Linked DNA regions of Homo sapiens: region 2 is linked to region 1. The links are contacts of gene promoters, found by promoter capture Hi-C in human tissues and cell types (Jung and others, 2019). All regions are on one chromosome and are shown on one strand. The core of a region is centred on a gene start or on the middle of the fragment in contact, and the rest is flanking DNA. Distances in the headings are between cores, read along the strand shown.

The links. The method cuts DNA at HindIII sites, captures the fragments that hold promoters and counts their contacts. A contact is called where the count stands out against the background at its distance.
Region 2: a contact is called between the fragment with the promoter of CHADL here and a fragment that was not itself captured in region 1, in 1 of the 25 tissues and cell types used here (dorsolateral prefrontal cortex).

Annotation. Positions count from the first base shown.
Region 1 is chr22:41,377,582-41,380,932 of GRCh38, reverse strand. The region is part of intron 1 of LOC105373042 (a long non-coding RNA gene); the gene reads left to right. It also overlaps a transcript of TEF not described here. Among named protein-coding and RNA genes, the nearest start is that of TEF, 2.7 kb to the left of the region's middle. The HindIII fragment of the contact is 7,689 bases long and covers 1-3,351 here.
Region 2 is chr22:41,239,384-41,242,734 of GRCh38, reverse strand. It overlaps CHADL (chondroadherin like), which reads left to right and starts at 1,804. Exons shown (of 6, transcript NM_138481.2): 1 at 1,804-1,861; 2 at 3,115-3,292. The coding sequence starts at 1,854. RefSeq lists enhancers at 1,200-1,700, 1,701-2,201. The HindIII fragment of the contact is 27,215 bases long and covers 1-3,351 here.

The DNA of each region.
Region 1 (3,351 bases), core at 77-2,576:
TCCACAGTCCCAAACAGATGTGAAATTCTTTTCCTTTCTAGAACTCTCCCTTCTTTTACCTAGAAAACAAAAACCTCCTTGACACCAGGTACCGATGCCACGTTTTGTGGGAGAACCACCTCCTCTCTTAAAATATAAAGCCTCCCCGGGAGTTCCGCAGAAATCCGTAAAAATGTAATATGTGGCGCGGTACACAAATGGAAAGCTGCTCCTAAACAGCGCTCAGAACTTTGTACCTCTTTATAGTACAGATCAGACTCCGCTGCAAACCCAGGCAACATTAGACTCCCCGCTTAACTCCCGGAAGGCAGAGAGCTTGGCTTGTTTATCCAGCATCCCTACAGTGGCCCAGCCCTTCTAGCAGGAGGGGTTGGGGGGGTGGTATAGTGATAGTCCTTGGTTCAGGGGGTAGATGCATGATCCAGACACCCACAGCCAGCTAAAAGTTATCAAGCTGATGCAATCAGAATTTTGCTGGGGCTGGGCTTGGTGACTCACGCCTGTAATCCCGGCACTTTGGGAGGCAGAGGTGGCGGATCACCTGAGGTCAGGAGTTCGAGACCAGCCTGGCCAACAGGGCGAAACTCCGACACTACTGTAAGTACAGAAATAATTAGACGGGCATGGTGGCTGGCGCCTGTAATCCCAGGTACTGGGGAAGCTGAGGCACGAGAATCGGTTTGAACCTGGGAGGTGGAGGTTTCAGGGAGCCGAGATCGCGCCACTGCAGTCAAGCCTGGGCGACAGAGGGAGACTCCATGTCAAAAAAATAAATAAATAAAAATAATTTTGCGGCGGGGTAAGGAGGAAAAAGAAGTTGGGTAGCTGACCAGGCCTGGAAAGCAAGAGATTTGAAGGACTTTGGGTGGTGGTAGAGACAGGATGATAGGTCTGATTCCAAAATTCAAGCTCTCACTGCCACTGTAATTGAACCTCAGTCATTTTCTGAATCTGATGCCTCGATTGCTTTACCTTTTCAGGCCTCCTTTTCTTTTTATTTTCTTTTCTTTTCTTTTCTTTTTTTCTTTTTTTTTTTTTTGAGACGGAGTTTTGCTGTTGTTGCCCAGGCTGGAGTGCAATGGCGCGATCTCGGCTCACCGCAACCTCCGCCTCCCAGGTTCAAGCGATTCTCCTGCCTCAGCTTCCCGAATAGCTGGGATTACAGGCATGCGTCACCACGCCCGGCTAATTTTGTATTTTTAGTAGAGACGGGGTTAATTTTGTATTTTTGGTAGAGACGGGGTTTCTCCATGTTGGTCAGGCTGGTCTCGAACTCCTGACCTCCGGTGATCCACCCGCCTCGGCATCCCAAAGTGCTGGGATTACAGGCGTGAGCCACCGCACCCAGCGTTTTTTCCTTTTATGCCAAATGGAGTTAGGGCAGGCTCTACCTTATGGTGTTTTTGTTTTTTGTTTTTTGTTTTTGAGACGGAGTTTTGCCCTTGTTGCCCAGGCTGGAGTGCAATGGCGGGATCTCGGCTCACTGCAACCTCTGCCTCCTGAGTTCAAGCGATTCTCCTGCCTCAGCCTCCTGAGTAGCTGGGATTGCAGGCGTGCACCACCACGTACGGCTAATTTTTTTTTTCTTTTTTCCGAGACAGAGTCTCACTCTGTAGCCCAGGCTGGAGTGCAAATGGCGGGATCTCGGTTCACTGCAAGCGCTGCCTCCCGGCTTCCCGCCATTCTCCTGCCTCAGCCTCCGGAGTAGCTGGGACTACAGGAGCCCGCCACCGTGCCCGCCTAATTTTTTGTATTTTCTATAGAGACGGGGTTTTACCACATTGGCCAGGCTGGTCTCGAACTCCTGACCTCAGGTGATCCACCCGCGTCTCCCAAAGTGCTGGGATTACAGGCGTGAGCCACCGCGCCTGGCCTACCTTACGGGGTTTCTGTGAGCCAATTTGCGTAGGCGCACAGTTGCAAACCTTCAACAAATTTAGTTTTCATAATTTTACTAAAACTGGTTGGCATATCCATTATCCCAGAGGTTAGTGTGGTGCCTGTGTCACTCTCTGTAGTGAAAATAGTTAATTGTGTACAGAAAATTTGTTGTGTTGTAGAATTGTTAGTGAGAATTCTGTGTGTGGCGAAACTTAAACACCTTTAGGGGAAGCTAACCTAGACAAAGGACATTCCAAGGAAACTGATTAAACCAATACAGGGCTGGGCGTGGTGGCTCACCCATGTAATCCCAGCACTTTGGGAGGCTGAGGCAGGCGGATCACCTGAGGTCAGGAGTTCGAGACCAGCCTGGCCAACGTGGTGAAACCCTGTCTCTATTAAGAATATAGCCGGGCACAGTGGCTCACGCCTGTAATCCCAGCACTTTGGGAGGCCGAGCCGGGAGGATCACAAGATCAGGAGATCGAGACCATACTGGCTGACAGTGAAACCCTGTCTCTACTAAAAAATACAAAAAATTAGCTGGGTGTGGTGGCGGGCACCTGTAGTCCCAGCAACTCGGGAGGTTGAAGCAGGAGAATGGCGTGAACCCGGGAGGCGGAGCTTGCAGTGAGCCGAGATCACGCCACTGCACTCCAGCCTGAGCGACAGAGCGAGACTCCCTCTCAAAAAAAAAAAAAAAAAAAAGGCAAAAGTTAGCTGGGCGTGGTGGCGAGTGCCTGTAATCCCAGCTACTCGGGAGGCTGAGGCAGGAGAATTGCTTGAACGTGGGAGGCGGAGGTTGCAGTGAGCCGAGATCGTGCCACTGCACTCCAGCCTGTGGGACAGAATGAGACTCTGTCTCAAAAAAAAAAAAAAAAAAAAAGGAAGCTAAGGAAGCTTTTTAAAAAACCTGCTAGTTTGGCCATGAGGAGACTTGATGGCTTAGAATCATACCTATATAGTCTCATGGCTAATACGACATTATTGCTGGGAAGAAAAACCCATTCTCAAAGTATTAGACAATGATTAATGATAACAGTGGAAGGTTCTAACACGTGTTTATGAGAAAGATGGGATGTAGTAAGAGGAAGTAAAGATTTAGATTTTCTTTTTTTAGCTGTAGTTATCCAAAACGAATAATGCCTACTCCACTCATCTCCCAGCCTGGAGCAGCTACCCTAACAGGCAAGTGACGCTGGTGAGAAGTGAGACCAGCGGGTTAAGCCTCCAGAACTTGGTGTTCATGTACTGACACTCCCCAGAGAGAGTTTTTTCCCCTGGATAACCAGAGGGTAGATGATGTGTCACAAATACTGCAGGAGCGTTGCAAACACGTTCTCTATCGTGCTTAATTGCCAGCTGTGAGGGGTTAGCTACATCAGTTTACAGCATTAAACAGTGCCATCCTGGAGGTGGGAGCTATTATGTTCTCCTCTTCATTCTCCACCACAGCAGCCTCTCTCTACC
Region 2 (3,351 bases), core at 555-3,054, 140 kb after region 1:
AGTGAGACCCTGTCTCAAAAAAAGGACGAAAGAGCACACTGAAGTTCCATTGATTGGAATTTGCCAAGCAAAAAAAGCACAAAGCAGATGGCTGTGTGGCATGGCACTATTTCTTTTTTTAAAATGTTACTGCAGGGCTGGGCGTGGTGACTCATGCCTGTAATCCCAGCACTTTGGGAGATCAAGGCGGGCAGATCACTTGAGGTCAGGAGTTCGGGACCGGCCTGGCCAACATGGCGAAACCCCGTCTCTACTAAAAATGCAAAAATTAACCAGATGTGGTGGTACACATCTGTCATCCCAGCTACTTGGGAAGCTGAGGCAGGAGAATCGCATGAACCAGGGAGGTGGAGGTTGCAGTGAGCTCCAGCCTGGGCGATAAAGTGAGACTCTGTCTCAAAAAACAAAAAACTCCTGCAGTCTAGGAAAAGTACACACAGATGTTCATTGTTTAACATATATAAATATATATAAACATATACATTTATATTTTTATTATATATAAATATATACACACATAAGTGTATACACACACACATACATATATATATATATATATATATATATATATATATATATATATATATATATGTATATATTTTTTTTCTTTTTTGAGACAGTTTCACTCTGTTGCCCAGGCTAGAGTGCAGTGGCGCCATCTCGGCTCTCGCGTTCATGCCATTTGCCTGCCTCAGCCTCCCAAGTAGCTGGGACTACAGGCGCCTGCCACCACACCCGGCTAATTTTTTGTACTTTTAGTAGAGATAGGGTTTCACTGTGTTAGCCAGGATGGTCTTGATCTCGACCTCGTGATCCACCCGCCTCCGCCTCCCAAAGTGCTGGGATTACAGGCGTGAGCCACCGCGCCCGGCCTTTTTTTTTTCTCTTGAGACAGAGTCTGTGTTGCCCAGGCTGGTCTCAAACTCCTGGGCTCAAGTGATCCTCCCACCTCAGCCTCCCAAAGTGCTGGGATTACAGGCATGAGCCACTGTGCCTGACCCCTGTTTCCAATTAAAGGAACAAACAGTAGAAGATGCAATTCCATCAGAAGCAGGAATCTGAAAAATCAAGATACATGAACATTGGCCATGGTCTGGATGTATTATTTAAAAAACAAACACGAGCTTGGGAAGATGCGTATTTGGATATTCTTTGCAATATTGTTTGTAAATAGCAAAAAATTGGAGGTAGCCAATGTCCAAGATGAATGGCTAAGTCAATGTGATACATTTACACAATGGAATACTATATACCACAGAATAATGAGATTCGGAAGAGTCAATTTGGATAACTCCCAGTAATCTGAGGTTAAGTGAAAAAAATGAGTGTCTAGAATCCTGTGTGTCCAGTATTAAACTATTTATGTCAATGTGTAAGCACAAACGGAAGGAAAGGGTCACCTGTTCTGAAGCACCCACTGTGTGCCAGGTGCGGGCCTGAACCCCCACTGTGACCTCAGAGCTACTTATTAATGGGATGTGTTTTTCAGAGACTAGGAAGCAGCCTCTGGGAGGGCAGCCCACATGGCAGGAGGGAGCCCAGGACTGCTGACTCCCGGGCCAGCTGCTGGTGCCCCCTCCCTGTCGGGCTGGCCCAAGGATTCAGGCCGGGGCCTCAGTCCTCGGCTGGGGCAGGCAGGAGGCCCTGTAACTCCAGCCGCTGCTCCCGCCCGCCGCCCGCCCCTTCTTCACCTCAGCCTGGGGAAGCCTGGCTTGCCTGGTCTGCCGACAATGCCTCCCATTCAGCCCTGTCCCAGCTGCCAGGCCTGCGGGCCGTGGAGGGGGGCTCCTGCCAGGCGGGGACAGCCTGTCCCTGCGCTGCGCCTCCAGGCTGGACCAGCAGTTCCAGGCGGCATGGAGGGGTGAGTCTTTGGGCCCGATGGTGCAAGGGGGGATTCAGAGCAGCTCAGTGGCCTCAGGTAAGTCTCTGCCCCCTCTGGGCCTCTCAGAGGCTGGCGGGCAGGGGCTCTGGGGACTTCCTGGGGTTCTCCAGGAAGGGGGTCTCCCAAGGTGGGCTCTGAGACACGTGGCAATGTGGCCACTGCCAGGAACTGGTCCTCTGGGGCTTGTCTGAGAGCCCAGCAGTGGTCCCTGCATTATGAATGCTTGTCGCTTCAGCGATCTGTCCCCATGGGTCCCCTCCCTGGCCTGCCCTGAGGCACAGCCTTCACCACAGGCTCTGGAGAAGCCACCAACTCCAACGCAGGGGCTGGAGCCTGGGACCCAAAGGAGACTCCAAAACAGACGATAGTCCAGTGAGCAGCGAGGGGGAGGCTCCTGGGGGCCGGGGAACAGCCCAGCGATGGGGGAGAGGCCATGCCTGACACAGGCTGAGAACAGAGGGGCCAGCTGGGCAGGGGAGGTGATCTATCATCCTAGCGCTTTGGGAGGCCAAGGTGGGACAATCACTTGAGGCCAGGAGTTCAAGACCAGCCCGGGCAACATAGCGAGACCCTGTCTCTACCAGAAGTAATTAAAAAATTAGCCAGGCGTGGTGGTGTGTGCCTGTAGTCCCAGCTACTCAAGAGGCTGAGGTGAGAGGATCACTTTAGCCCAGGAGGTGAAGGCTGCAGTAAGCCATAGTCATTCCACTGCACTCCAGACTCCAGCCTGGGCAACAGAGCAAGGCTTGTCTCTATTTAAACAAACAAACAAAAAAAGACTCAAGGACCCGGACTGGATGCCTCCCTCCTTTCTGGGGGGTACCATTATGCTCCTGCCACCTGGGAGCTGGCATCATATCAGTCTGAGGACAGGCTGCTTCCGAGCCTACCCTGGACCAGAGCCTCACCACAGCCTGAGAACATGCTCTGAACTGGAGTCATTCTCACAGTCAGCAAGTCCTCACTGAGCCATTGGGCAGAGGCAAAGGGACTAACCAGGTCACTTTTCTGAGCCTCGGTTTCCTCCCATGTAAAACAGGACTAATCATAGGACCTCCACTGCGTGGGGGGTGGGGGGCAGGGAGGCTCAGGGTGATTGGCACTTTCCTGGGCCCAAAGGAGGAGGCTCTGAGGGGTTTTTGGGGCAGGAGCTGCACCATGGCTGGGACTAAGTGAGGGACAGCATGTGGCCTCGGCCCTTGTGCACAACAGACTCTCCCTCCCCGTCCCAGGCCCCGGAGCTCCACCCATGTCCCCTTGGTGCTGCCGCTTCTTGTACTTCTGCTGCTGGCCCCGGCTAGGCAGGCCGCCGCCCAGCGCTGCCCACAGGCCTGCATCTGTGACAACTCCAGGCGACACGTTGCCTGCCGGTACCAGAACCTCACTGAGGTGCCAGACGCCATCCCTGAGGTCAGCAGGGCAGGAGCACAGGCACAGAGTGGCAGTGGGGCAAGGTGGGGACCCAGAGG